Linked DNA regions of Homo sapiens: region 2 is linked to region 1. Evidence: promoter capture Hi-C in 16 types of primary human blood cells and fetal thymus (Javierre and others, 2016). All regions are on one chromosome and are shown on one strand. The core of a region is centred on a gene start or on the middle of the fragment in contact, and the rest is flanking DNA. Distances in the headings are between cores, read along the strand shown.

Region 1 (6,366 bases), core at 2,244-4,743:
TCCTCTGATTTACATAATGATTTGGAGACCTTGAAGAGGAGTGTGTGGGTAGTGAGTCTAGTGTAGGGGAATCAATGCACATAAGGGAAGAAAGGAGATTCTGGATTAGAGTTTTGACCCACTTGCCACCAAGAGCTCACAGGCTTCATATTCTAATCATGAAACCCTTTTTGGTATTAGGTGGACAGGAATTTGATGACAAGATTGGTTTGTTCTTTTTTTTTTTTTTTGAGATGGAGTCTTGCTCTGTCGCCCAGGCTGGAGTACAGTGGTGTGATCTCAGCTCACTGCAACCTCTGCTTCCTGGGTTCAAGTGGTTCTTATGCCTCAGCCAGCCTCTGGGAGTATAGCTGGGGTTACAGGTGCCTGCCACCATGCCCAGCTATTTTTTTTTTTTTTGTATTTTTAGTAGAGATGGGGCTTCACCATGTTGGCCAGGCTTGTCTTGAACTCCTGACTTCAAGTGGTCCACTTGCCTTGGCCTCCCAAAGTGCTGGAATTACAGGCATGAACCACCACACATGGCCTTGGTTTGTTCTTAAAAGCCCTTGTACTTATGCACAGGCTGTTCTGAGAAGTAAGATTATTGGATCTTTGGGAATTTTAATGCATTTTAAATTTTAGGGTGGGTGAGGTGGCTCACACCTGTAATCTCAGCAATTTGGGAGGTTGAGGCAGAAGGATTGCTTGAGCCCAAGGAGTTTGAGACTAACCTAGGCAACACAGCAAGACTCCGTCGCTAAAATTTTTTTTTGAAAATTGTAATAGGTATAGCTAAATTGCCCTTCCAAAGGGCTGTAAAACTTTACACTCTAAAGAAAACAAACAACATTATTAAAAAGTGAGCATGCTGGGCATTGTGGCAGGTACCTGTAATCCCAGCTTCTCAGGAGGCTGAGGTGGGAGGATTGCTTGAGAATAGTAGTTGGAGACCAGCCTGGACAACATAGATAGATCCTGACTCAAAAAGAAATAAAAGCAGGCAAAAGTGCTGAACAGACACTTCACCAAAGAAGATATGCAGATGGCAAATAAGCACATGACACATGAAAAGATCAAATGTCATTAGGGCACTGCAAATTCAAACAAGATGCAGCTACACACCTATTACAGTGGTTAAAATCTGAAACACTGACAATATCAAATGTTGGCAAGGACATGAAGTAAAAATTGCTGGTAGGAATGCAAAATTGTACAGTCACTTTGCAAGACAGATTGGCAGTTTCTTACAAAGTTAAACATAGTCTTACTATGTAATCTAGCCATTGTGCTCCTAGATATTTACCCAGATGAATGGAAAATTTTTCAGCAAAAACCTGCACGTGGATGTTTATAGCAGTTTTATTCATAATTGTCAAAAACTGGAATCAACCAGGATATTCTCTGATAGGTGAAGGAATAAACCGTGGTACATCCATGTGATGAAACGTTATTCAGTGATAAGAAGAAATGAGCTATTAAGCCGTGAAAAGATACAGAGAATCATTAATCACATATATTGCTAAGGGAAAGAAGCCAGTCTGAAAAGGCTACATGTTGTATGATTCCAACTGTAAGATATTCTAGATAAGGCAAAACTATAGATCTAGACGGTGGTTGCCCAGGGCTGAGGAGTGAGGGAAGGAGGAATGAATAGGCAGAACATGGCAGGTTATTAGAGTAGTGGAAGTATTCTGTATGATACAATAATGATGAATACATGACATTATGCATTTGGCAAAAGTGACAGAATTATATGCACAAAGACTGAACCTTAATGTAAACTATAGACTTTAGTTAATAATAGTGCATCAATATTGGTTCATTAATTGTAACAAATGTACCACATTAATGCAAGATATTAATTAGAGGAGAAACTGGTTGGGGAGATGGAGAATAATGGGAACTCCCTGTATTTTCTGTTCAATTTTTTTGTAAACCTAAAACTACTGTAAGAAATAATCCATTAATTAATAATAATAATAAATGTACAGATTCACCAAGAGTGTACACTTCTACTTCCACTCTCTTTGTTGATGTATGGTGACAGAATTTTGACATACATTCAATTTGATGGATCGAGTTTGGTCTTTTTCTTTTTTTGAGACGTCATTTCACTCTTGTCACCCAGGCTGGAGTGCAATGGCGCAATCTTGGCTCACTGCAACCTCCACTTCCCGGGTTCAATTGATGCTCCTTCCTCAGCCTCACAAGTAACTGGGATTACAGGTGCCTGTCACCATACCCAGACAATTTTTGTATTTTTAGTAGAGACAGGGTTTCACCATGTTGGCCAGGCTGGTCTTGAATGCCTGACCTCAAGTGATCCACCCACCTTGGCCTTCCAAACTGCTGGGATTACAGGTGTGAACCACTGTGCCCGGCCAAGTTTGGTATTTTATTGTTGTTTGGATTTGCATTTTCCTGCTTATTACCCAAGTTGAGATCTTTTCCAGATTATTGGACTTTTCAAGTTTCCTAATTATGAATTGTCTGTTCCTGGTTTTTGCCTATTTTTCCAGTTGATTATTGGTCTTTTGATTGTGAATTTTTGTTTATTGTGAATTTGTGAGACTTAAAACATTTTTGCATATTAATTCTTTTTTTTTTTTTTCCAGACAGAGTCTCACTGTCACCCAGGCTGGAGTGCAATGTGGGGATCTCAGTTCAGTGCAACCTCCACCTCCTGGGCTCAAGCGATCCACCTGCCTTGGCCTCCCAAAGTACTGGGATTACAGGCATAAGCCACCATGCCTGGCCACTGTATATTACTTTTTAATTTTACAAGTTGCAAATGTTTTCTCACGATCTGTCACTTTCTTTCTTTCCTTCCTTCTTCTCTTCTTTTCTTTGTCTTTTTAAAATTTGAGACAGGGCCTCACTCTGTCACCCAGGCTGGAGTGCAGTGGCACGATCATGGCTCAGTGCAGCCTTGAACTCCCCAGGCTCAGGTGATCTTGCCACCTCAGCCTCCAGAGTAGCTGGGAGAACTACAGGTGCATGCCACCATACCCAGCTAATTTTTTTTTTTTTTTTTTTGTGTGTGTGTGTGTGTGTGTGGAGATGGGGTCTTCCTATGTAGCCCAGGCTGGTCTTGAACTCCTGGGCTCAAGTGATCCACCCAACTTGGTCTCCCAAAGTGCTGGGATTATAGGCGTGATCCACTGTGCCTGGCCCTGTCATTTCTTTTCTCAGAGAGGATAACAATTTATTTGTCCTACAGAAAGTTTTAAATGTTGAAGGAGATTGGCCTGGAAATATGCTTTTGGGGAGCAACACGGTCTGAGCCAGACATCCAGATACAGCCCATTCTTCTGGCCAGTCTTGCCCTTTGCTCCTGATTCTCCAAGCTGTACCCAGAGCTTTCTGGTTCAGCATGTACCTGGAGGCTGCTTTTGACCATGTTTTGAGAGTGGCATGGCTTTATCTAATGGGATGAACCTGGCTAAAGAGATTAGCAAAATGTCTTGTGGATCCCACTTTTAATCTGCAGCGTTCAGGCTGCCCCTTCTTGGCTGGGAAGGGCGCTGAAGAAACAACGCCCAGGACCAGGACTATCCCCTGCTCAAGCTGTGATTCCGAGACCCCTGCCACCACTACTGCATTCACGGGGATCCCAGGCTAGTGGGACTCGACATGGGTAGCCCCCAGGGCAGCTCCCTACAGCTTGGGCCATCTGCACTTTTCCCAAGGCCCTAAGTCTCCGCCTCTGGGCTCGTTAAGGTTTGGGGTGGGAGCTGTGCTGTGGGAAGCAACCCGGACTACACTTGGCAAGCATGGCGCTACTGAAAGTCAAGTTTGACCAGAAGAAGCGGGTCAAGTTGGCCCAAGGGCTCTGGCTCATGAACTGGTTCTCCGTGTTGGCTGGCATCATCATCTTCAGCCTAGGACTGTTCCTGAAGATTGAACTCCGAAAGAGGAGCGATGTGATGAATAATTCTGAGAGCCATTTTGTGCCCAACTCATTGATAGGGATGGGGGTGCTATCCTGTGTCTTCAACTCGCTGGCTGGGAAGATCTGCTACGACGCCCTGGACCCAGCCAAGTATGCCAGATGGAAGCCCTGGCTGAAGCCGTACCTGGCTATCTGTGTTCTCTTCAACATCATCCTCTTCCTTGTGGCTCTCTGCTGCTTTCTGCTTCGGGGCTCGCTGGAGAACACCCTGGGCCAAGGGCTCAAGAACGGCATGAAGTACTACCGGGACACAGACACCCCTGGCAGGTGTTTCATGAAGAAGACCATCGACATGCTGCAGATCGAGTTCAAATGCTGCGGCAACAACGGTTTTCGGGACTGGTTTGAGATTCAGTGGATCAGCAATCGCTACCTGGACTTTTCCTCCAAAGAAGTCAAAGAGTGAGTGGCTTCCAGTCCTGGGGTCAGAGCTATGAATATATTGGGGACACTGAGGCTCAGGCCTCTGACCAGCCCCTCTCCCCGCACCCAGTGCCTTTTCCTCTCCATCGGGTGCACAACTTATTGCTGCGTATGTGAGGGTGTATCAGGTGGAACCATATGAAATTGCTAATATTCTACCTCTTTGACCCATAAAAAATGACAACTTCATAGGGTTCAACCTAACATTGGCTAAGGTGGTAGGAAGGTATCAATTTATATAAGCTGTTTGGATAGGAGCCCCTTGGGATGAAGAGCCAGGCAGCAATGTGTGTCCACTTTATACAGAGGGATGGAAGTCATTCATAGATCACAAACACTGAGGTACTATTTGGCTATTTGTCCCATTCATTCAAAGTAGATGGATTCAGTCCCAGAAGTTTAAATTTCCTAGTTAGTTCCCTTGTTTTCCAACCTTTCAACCCTGAGCATCCATTCCCAAGATGTTTGTCTGGATATGTTGGAAAGAGCATAGGAAGGGGAAGTCATGAGATCTAGGGTGAAGTTTTGGTTCTGTTGTTCAAGGTCTTGTGACCTTGGGCAGGTCACTAGTCACTCTGCGCTTTGGCTTGCCCATCTTTTAAATGAGCACTGGAATAGAATAGGTAATTTTGGAAGTCACCTCCTAGCCCTGCCTGGTAGCTGGCATGCAGCAGGTACTCATTAAATGCTTGCTGGTGTTTACTTAGCGAGTCATGATAGTGCAATGTGATAAAGCATTTCTAAAGTATTCTTGGCATATGTAAAAGTAAAATGCTGCGATGGGCTGTGGGAGGTGCTGGTGAGAGAGAGACTCTCGACCACTGTGTCGGAGGGAACAGCCTGTGCACTGGCTCCAGCGGGCTGCTCTTCCCAACACACCCACCAACCTGGGGCTCGAGTGACTTTTCAGGGAAAGGGCAGCCTGCCTTGAGGCAGCCGCTTTCCCTCACCTCTTCTTTCTGTCTGACTCGACCCTACCTGGCTGAGGTTAGGGGTTCAGTTATTCCTAAGGGTGGTTTTTTTTTCTTCCCAGTGAGGCTGGCAAGTCCAAAGGGAACTTGAACTCAGGGCATTGGCACCAGCAGCAGGACATGTTTGAAGCCCAAAACAACATTAATGACGCCCAAATAGCTAGCTTATATCTGCCCTGCAGATGGAAGGGACGTCCAAGTGAAGGTCACTTCTTGGGATTTTATTTTCTTGTGGATGGAGATTACTGCTGCAAATCCCCAGTCAGGAGAGGATTGTAAAGGGCTGTGCCCTTCCCAGGTGACAGGTCTGCAGGGGCAGCACAAGATGCCACGATTTACATAAATCTCCCGAGGAGGGCATGAAGCCAGGGGGACAAGCAGAATTCTGGGGAGTGGGAGAGGCCGATGGTAGAACCAGCCTCTGTGAGCAGAGGCTCACAGAGAAGGGGCTTTTCATCTTTTCCTCTATCATTTCCCTTGATTGTCTCCTGCATAGAGTCAGTTCTTGGACAGATGTATTCAAATCTCTCGGTAACTCCAAATCCCCTTTTGTATCAGAGTGAAGGAATTATCTAGGTCACTCCACTCTCAATGGTCAATGGATCCAAAATTTCAGGCAAATATTTAGCTGAATCAAAACTCCTTCAATGTCCCATACCAACTTGTTGGTGGGAAATTTTCCTAACTCCACTGACTTGGAAAAATTCTTCTATTACACGCACAAAAAATACAGCAGTAATATTAAAAGAAGCCAAAATAGGAAAACAAATTCAAGCTAGCTTCTCACCCATAACTTGATTAATGCCTTTAGTTTTTCTACATTTCAGTTTCAGTCTAGTCTTGTTAACATTTACATAATCATACAGTGTAATGATAGTATAAAGACAATTTAGGGCCGGGTGCGGTAGCTCACACCTGTAATCCCAGCACTTTGGGAGGCCGAGGCGGGCGGATCACCTGAGTTCAGGAGTTCGAGACCAGCCTGACCAACACGGAGAAACCCCGTCTCTACTAAAAATACAAAATTAGCCGGGCATG
Region 2 (6,366 bases), core at 2,035-4,534, 580 kb after region 1:
GATCTGCCCACCTCGGCCTCCCAAAGTGCTGGCATTATAGGCGTGAGCCACCGCGCCCGGCCACCCAGGTGGCCTTTTTAAGCCTTCCACACCTTGGCCAACCTTGCCGTGACCTCCCACACACTGGATAATTCCGAGCTCCCCCATCCTCAGCCCCTGAAGAGGTCTCCTGCCTACCCTCCCCAGATCCTGCAGCCCCCAAATTGCTCTGCACTTTCCCCCCTTCATTTCCTTCCTTTCAGTTACCTCCCCACTGCCCAGCTCTCCACAGGTCACTGCCTGTCTCCACAGACTATATAACAACCTGGACTCAAGAACCATGTCTTTAATTTTTCTGGCTCTTTCACAGCCCAGCGTGTGGCACACAGTGGCTCTCAAGAATATTAGTTACAGGCCGGGTGCGGTGGCTCATGCCTGTAATCCCAGCACTTTGGGAAGCCAAGGCCGGTGGATCACCTGAGGTCCGGAGTTCAAGACCAGAATGACCAACATGGTAAAACCCCATCTCTACTAAAAATACAAAAATTAGCCGGGCATGGTGGTGGGCACCTGTAATCCCAGCTACTCGGGAGGCTTAGACAGAAGAATCACTTGAATCTGGGAAGTGGAGGTTGCAGTGAGCCGAGATTGCGCCACTGCACTCCAGCCTGGGTGACAGAGAAAGACTCCATCTAAAAAATATACATATAATAATAATAATAGTTATATAGTAGAAGTTGCAAACAAATGGAGCCACTTGGCTGGCAAGGTGGCTCACGCCTATAATTCCAGCATTTTGGGAGGCTGAGGTGGGTGGATCACTTGAGGTCAGGAGTTTGAGACCAGCCTGGCCAACATGGTGAAACCCCATCTCTACTAAAAATATGAAAATTAGCTGGGCATTGTGGCGGGTACCTGTAGTCCCAGCTACTTGGGAGGCTGAGGCAGGAGAATCGTTAGAGCCCGGGAGGCGGAGGTGGCAGTGAGCCAAGATTGCATCACAGCACTCCAGCCTCGGCGACAGAGCAAGACTCTGTCTCGAAAAAAAAAAAAAAAGGAACAAAAAAACTAAAATGACATTTGAGGGGATAATTGTGAAATTCTTTTTTTGTTTGTTTGTTTTTTTTATTATTATTTATTTTTTTTTTTTTTATTTTTTTGAGACGGAGTCTTGCTCTGTCGCCCAGGCTGGAGTGTAGTGGCACGATCTCGGCTCACTGCAAGCTCCGCCTCCCAGGTTCACACCATTCTCCTGCCTCAGCCTCCTGAGTAGCTGGGACTGCAGGTGCCCGCCACCACGCCTGGCTAATTTTTTTTTTGTATTTTTAGTAGAGACGGGGTTTCACCGTGTTAGCCAGGATGGTCTCGATCTCCTGACCTCATGATCCACCTGCCTCGGCCTCCCAAAGTGCTGGGATTACAGGCGTGAGCCACCGCACCTGGCCTGTTTTTTAATTTTTTTGAGACGGAGTTTCACTCTTGTTGCCCAGGCTGGAGTGCAATGGCATGATCTTGGTTCACTGCAACCTCTGCCTCCCGGGTTCAAGTGATTCTTCTGCCTCAGCCTCCCTAGTAGCTGGGATTACAGGCACACACTTCCACGCCCAGCTGATTTTTTAAATATTTTTGGTAGAGACGGAGTTTCACCATGTTGGCCAGGCTGGTCTCAAACTCTTGACCTCAAGTGATCCACCTGCCTTGGCCTCCCAACGTGCTAGGATTACAGGCGTGAGCCACCGTGCCTGGCAATGTTAGATCTCCTGAGTGTGACAGTTGTATTGTGGCCATGTAGGAGAATGTTCCTACTCTTAGACATCGATGCTGAAGTACTGGGGGAGGCTAAGAAATGGGCCACGGTATCTACAACTTCCAAGCTTCAGCAAAATGAAAAGGAAAAGAATCCGGGAGAGAGAGAGACAGAGAGAGAGAGGGATGAATTTAGCAATGAGTTAACAATTGGTGAATCCAGGGAGAAGGGTACACAGGTGGTCATTGTACAATTCTTGTAAGTTCTCTGAAGGTTTGAAATGTTTCAGAGTGAAAAGTTGAGGGAAAACGCCTTTGGTGTAAGATCTGGGGGAAACTGAGGGGAAATGTGGCAGTGGGCCCTGTCCCCCGGAAGCTCAGCAGAAATGGCAACTTGCACCAGCCTATGCCCCCTGCTGCCCAGAAAACATCAAACTCCACCCACTTGGCCTGCACCTCTGCTCTCAGCATCTTCACGCAGGCTCTCCCCCTCCTCATCGGAGGAAATTTCCCCCGTGGATAGCCACCCCTGGCTTGGCTAGGATGTTACCCTAAGTGCCTTAAAGTACCACTGTTTGTCTCCCTGGAGAGTGAACCCAACCCTAAGTGGGCTCTACCCACTTTAGGTTTTCAAAAATTATATTCACTTAACTTCACAGAAAAAAAAGAATGTGGGCCAGGCGCGGTGGCCGACGCCTGTAATCCCAGCACTTTGGGAGGCCGAAGCCGGCAGATCACGAGGTCAGGAGTTCCAGACCAGCCTGGCTAACATGGTGAAAACCTGTCTCTACTAAAAATACAAAAATTAGCCGGGCGTGGTGGTGCGTGCCTGTAATCCCAGCTACTCGGGAGGCTGAGGCAGGAGAATCGCTTGAATCCGAGACCGGGAGGTTTCGGTGAGCCGAGATGGCGCCACTGCACTCCAGCCTGGGCAACAGAGCGAGACTCCGTCCAAAGGAAAAAAAAAAGAAAAGAAAAGAAAAGAAAAAGAAAAACAATGTGATGTACAGACACAGAATGCCAAGATTTCGTCATCCCACATTCTCTTCGGAGCCCTGTCAATGAGGATGTTTTTCCACCCTCGTCATCAGATTGGTATACTAGTTTGTCATTTTCTTGCTTTTCCCAGCTTACTTTTCTCTTACAGGCACTTCCTGATGTTCCCCGAAGCCTCACGCCCCACATATTTGAGGGGCTATAGGATGCCGTGGCGTGCTCGCTTTGGCCATCCATGTCCCTCGTGTTGGACACTAGAGCTGTCCCCGATGTACCCATACTGACCTGGTCACGAATCGCCTTGAGAGGCTGGAAACTCACCCGCCTCCTTTCCCGGACTAGGGGGAAGTGGGGTGAAGGAGGCGTGCAGGGAGGAACCTGGGGGAGGGGGTGGCCCGTCTCCCAGGCTGGGCGTGGGCCGGGCGAGGTCCCCAGCCCACCGGGCCGTGCCAACAATGGCCTGTTGTAGAAGGAGGCGGGAAGGAATGCGGCCTGGGGAGCTGGGCGGCGGCGGGGCGGGGCCCGGCCAAGCGGCTGCCTTTTACCTGGCCAGGTAGCTCGCATTTCCCGGCAAGCGGCGGCGCCCGCAGCACCTGTTGCCCGGTGCGCGGGCGGGGAGGACGGCGGGGGACATGGCCTGGTAGAGTCCCCTGGGGAGACCGTGCTGAGTTCAGTCCGGGGCAGGGCAGGGCGAGGGAGGGAAGGTCCTTCCCTGGCGCCCGCGCGGGCTGCGGCAGCATGAAAAAGAAGCAGACGGTGCAGGGCACCTTCAGCAAACTCTTCGGGAAGAAGCACACCACGACCCCCAGCACCTCCCTCTACGCCACCAATCCGCCCTGGATCTTCACCCAGGAGGCCCCGGAGGAGGGGACCGGGGGCTTCGGTGAGTACTCCGGGGACGGAGGGCGCTGGGGCGGGGACGGAGGGCGCTGGGGCAGGGCCGGCGGTGCTGTCTCCTGGAGGCGCGGAGGGGAGGGACACGTTGGAACCTGCGGACTGGCCGAGAGCAGCCGCCGGGCAGGGGAGGAGGCACCGCACAGGGGTGTCTGGGAAGGGCTGTGCGGTGAGAGAGGTGTGGGGAACGAGGGGACCCCCCCCACCACCACGGGGAGGTGGGAGAACTTTGCCGCCCCCACCTCTGACCCCAGGCCTTATTCGGAGGTGTTTAATTCCCCCTCTTGGCGAATCCTATGCTTGTGTTACTGTTAGCGGAAAGGCTTCCGGAGGTTTGCGATATCTCCCCCGACCCCCACCGCTACACCCCCATTCTGGCTGAAGCAAAAGTGTTCCTGAAGAACTGGGGGCTAAGGGGCTAAGAACTCCTCCCTCACCCTTTGCACTCCCTGTTTCCCAAGCCCACGTGGCAGAGAGGGGCCTGCTATCTGGGTGCTCACAAACTTGGCTCTGGCTAGGTGAGGCCCAGGAAAAAACAACAGGCGCAGCTGCTACCAGGTTACCAGCCTGTTTGTGACACCAAGTCACTTATTGGGGCCACAGGCTCCTGCCAGTTCAACCTGGGACCTGGGCTGTCTCTGGGCTAAGACCGAGGAGCCAGAAATGGGACAGTGGAGGCCAAGGAACCCTCTCCCTGACTGCCAGCTGCCGCTGACCCTGGAATCAGACTGGTGTGTCTCTGCAGGCCTCTAAAAGCACCGCCTTGGCTCATCCCCAGGCTCTGGCTGTGGGTCATCTTATCATTGCATCGTTTTGCAATTTGTATTCTCTATAACTAGGGGAAGCCAGCGGCTGGAGACAGAAATCCATTTCTTGTGTATGACATGTGGCTCTGGAACGCCCAGGTTGGGGGGGCAGGGGGCTTCTGGGCCCAAGGAAGGTCACCCATCACTGCTTTAGCTTGCCTGCCTTCATTCTCACCATATTATCTTCACTGATCTTTATAGCCACTGTGCTGGGACCCACAGTGGATGTCATAGCCTTGGTGCCTGCTGTTGGACTCAGTTCAGCATGCAGGTTGCCACAGCCAGGACACAAGGCACCATGGATAGGAGCAGGACGGACAAAGTGTCGCCTCTTCCTGGCACAAAGATATCAGATCAGGGGGTGAACAGAACTAACCATATGCCATTTAGCCCTTTCTGAGCCTTTGCTGTAAATGATTATTAAGCATAAAAGCAAAGAAGAGAGATGACCTCTGAGTGGAACTAGCATTCGAGCTGACAGGAGAGGGCATTCCTGGCAAAACAAACAGTAGAAGCAAAGACCAGGAGGAGCAGGGCAAGTGGAGGCATGGTGTAGGCACTCCCAGACACAGGTGTGCAGGCAAGTGCCTGTGAGCCAGGACACTTCTTTCCCTCTCAACGGAGGCACCATGGAAAGACCATTTATTAATCCCTTCTTAGGTGCAAGATGCCATTCTAAAATCTTTGTGTTACTGATTCATTGAAATCTCATCTAGAGTCAGGCACTATTATTGTCATTCCTGTTTGACAGATGAGGAGACTGAGGCACAGGGAGGTTAAGTAATATGCCCAAGATCATACAGCTTTCAATGCTGGAGGCAGCATTTTTCTAAGTCCACAATTCAATGATTTTTAGTAGACCATTTACACAGAGTTGTGCCATTATCACCACCATCTGGTTTTAGAACATTTCGATGACCTCCAAAATCTCCCTTGTGAGGCAGAACTAGTATTTGAATCCAGGCAGTCAGGCTCCAGAGATCACACTCTTAGCGGGTTTGCTGAATTAACTCTGCAGAGGAAGGCGATCCAAGTTTACTTGAGGGGCATCTGCCTGGAAAATACCACACACATACACACACACACACCCTTCCTCCCTCAAGGGGAGACCTCAGCCATGCCTCTCAGCCACGCCTCTCAGCCACTTCTGCATTTTGCCTAGGCTGTGCAGGCTGCTAGTGGGCATCAGCACCTCTGGTGAGGGAAGAGGGCCTGGTGCCCTGTCATCTCCAGCCAGCTGCTGCCCTCATCAGCCTGGGCAGAGCTGGAGTCCAAAGGACAGCTCCTCCCGTTCCTCAAGGCAGGGCTGGGCCTCCAGCTGACTCAGCTTGGTCTTGCCTGCACAAGGAGCCATGGAAAACATCATGCACCCAGCAGAACAGCGCCTCAGTGTTTCCGGGGTGTTCCCTGGGGTGCCACTGGGCGTGGCAGAAGTCCTCCCTGCTCTGCTTGGAGTTAGGGAGAGGAGGGACCAGTGTTGGGGATTCTGTGATGGGATGCAGGTGCAGCCCTGCCTTGGCATCCTGTCTCTGTCAATACATAGGGCTAAGCACTCTCTGGGCCTCAATTTTTTCTTCTGTTAAAGGGGATAGTGTCCAGGCTGCCTGCAGGGTAACTGCCTGAAGCGGTATTTATGGTAGTGCTTTGAAGAGCATTAAAACAAAAAGCTCTAAACAGGGTGTCCAATCTTTTGGCTTCCCTGGGTCACATTGGAAGAAGAATTGTCTTGGGCCACACATAAAATACACTGACACTAACAATAGCTGATGAGCTAAAAAACAAAACAAAAAAACGCAAAAAAAAACCCCTCATAATATTTTAAGAAAGTTCACTAATTTGTGTTGGGCCATGGGTTGGACAAGCTTGCTCTAAAGCAAGGATTGGCAAACTACAGTCCTGGCTCCATTCTGGCCCATGGCCTGCTTTGAGGAATAAAGTTTTATTA

What was found. Contacts are between HindIII fragments. The CHiCAGO score rates a contact against its expected background, and 5 or more counts as called.
Region 2: the fragment with the promoter of C6orf132 here is called in contact with the fragment with the promoter of PRPH2 in region 1 in 1 of 17 cell types (neutrophils); the score reaches 6.7 in neutrophils.

What each region holds. Positions count from the first base shown.
Region 1 is chr6:42,719,724-42,726,089 of GRCh38, reverse strand. It overlaps PRPH2 (peripherin 2), which reads left to right and starts at 3,493. Exons shown (of 3, transcript NM_000322.5): 1 at 3,493-4,336. The coding sequence starts at 3,756. The HindIII fragment of the contact is 19,648 bases long and covers 1-6,366 here.
Region 2 is chr6:42,139,538-42,145,903 of GRCh38, reverse strand. It overlaps C6orf132 (chromosome 6 open reading frame 132), which reads left to right and starts at 3,284. Exons shown (of 5, transcript NM_001164446.3): 1 at 3,284-3,604. The coding sequence starts at 3,460. RefSeq lists an enhancer at 4,030-4,709. The HindIII fragment of the contact is 4,430 bases long and covers 1,856-6,285 here.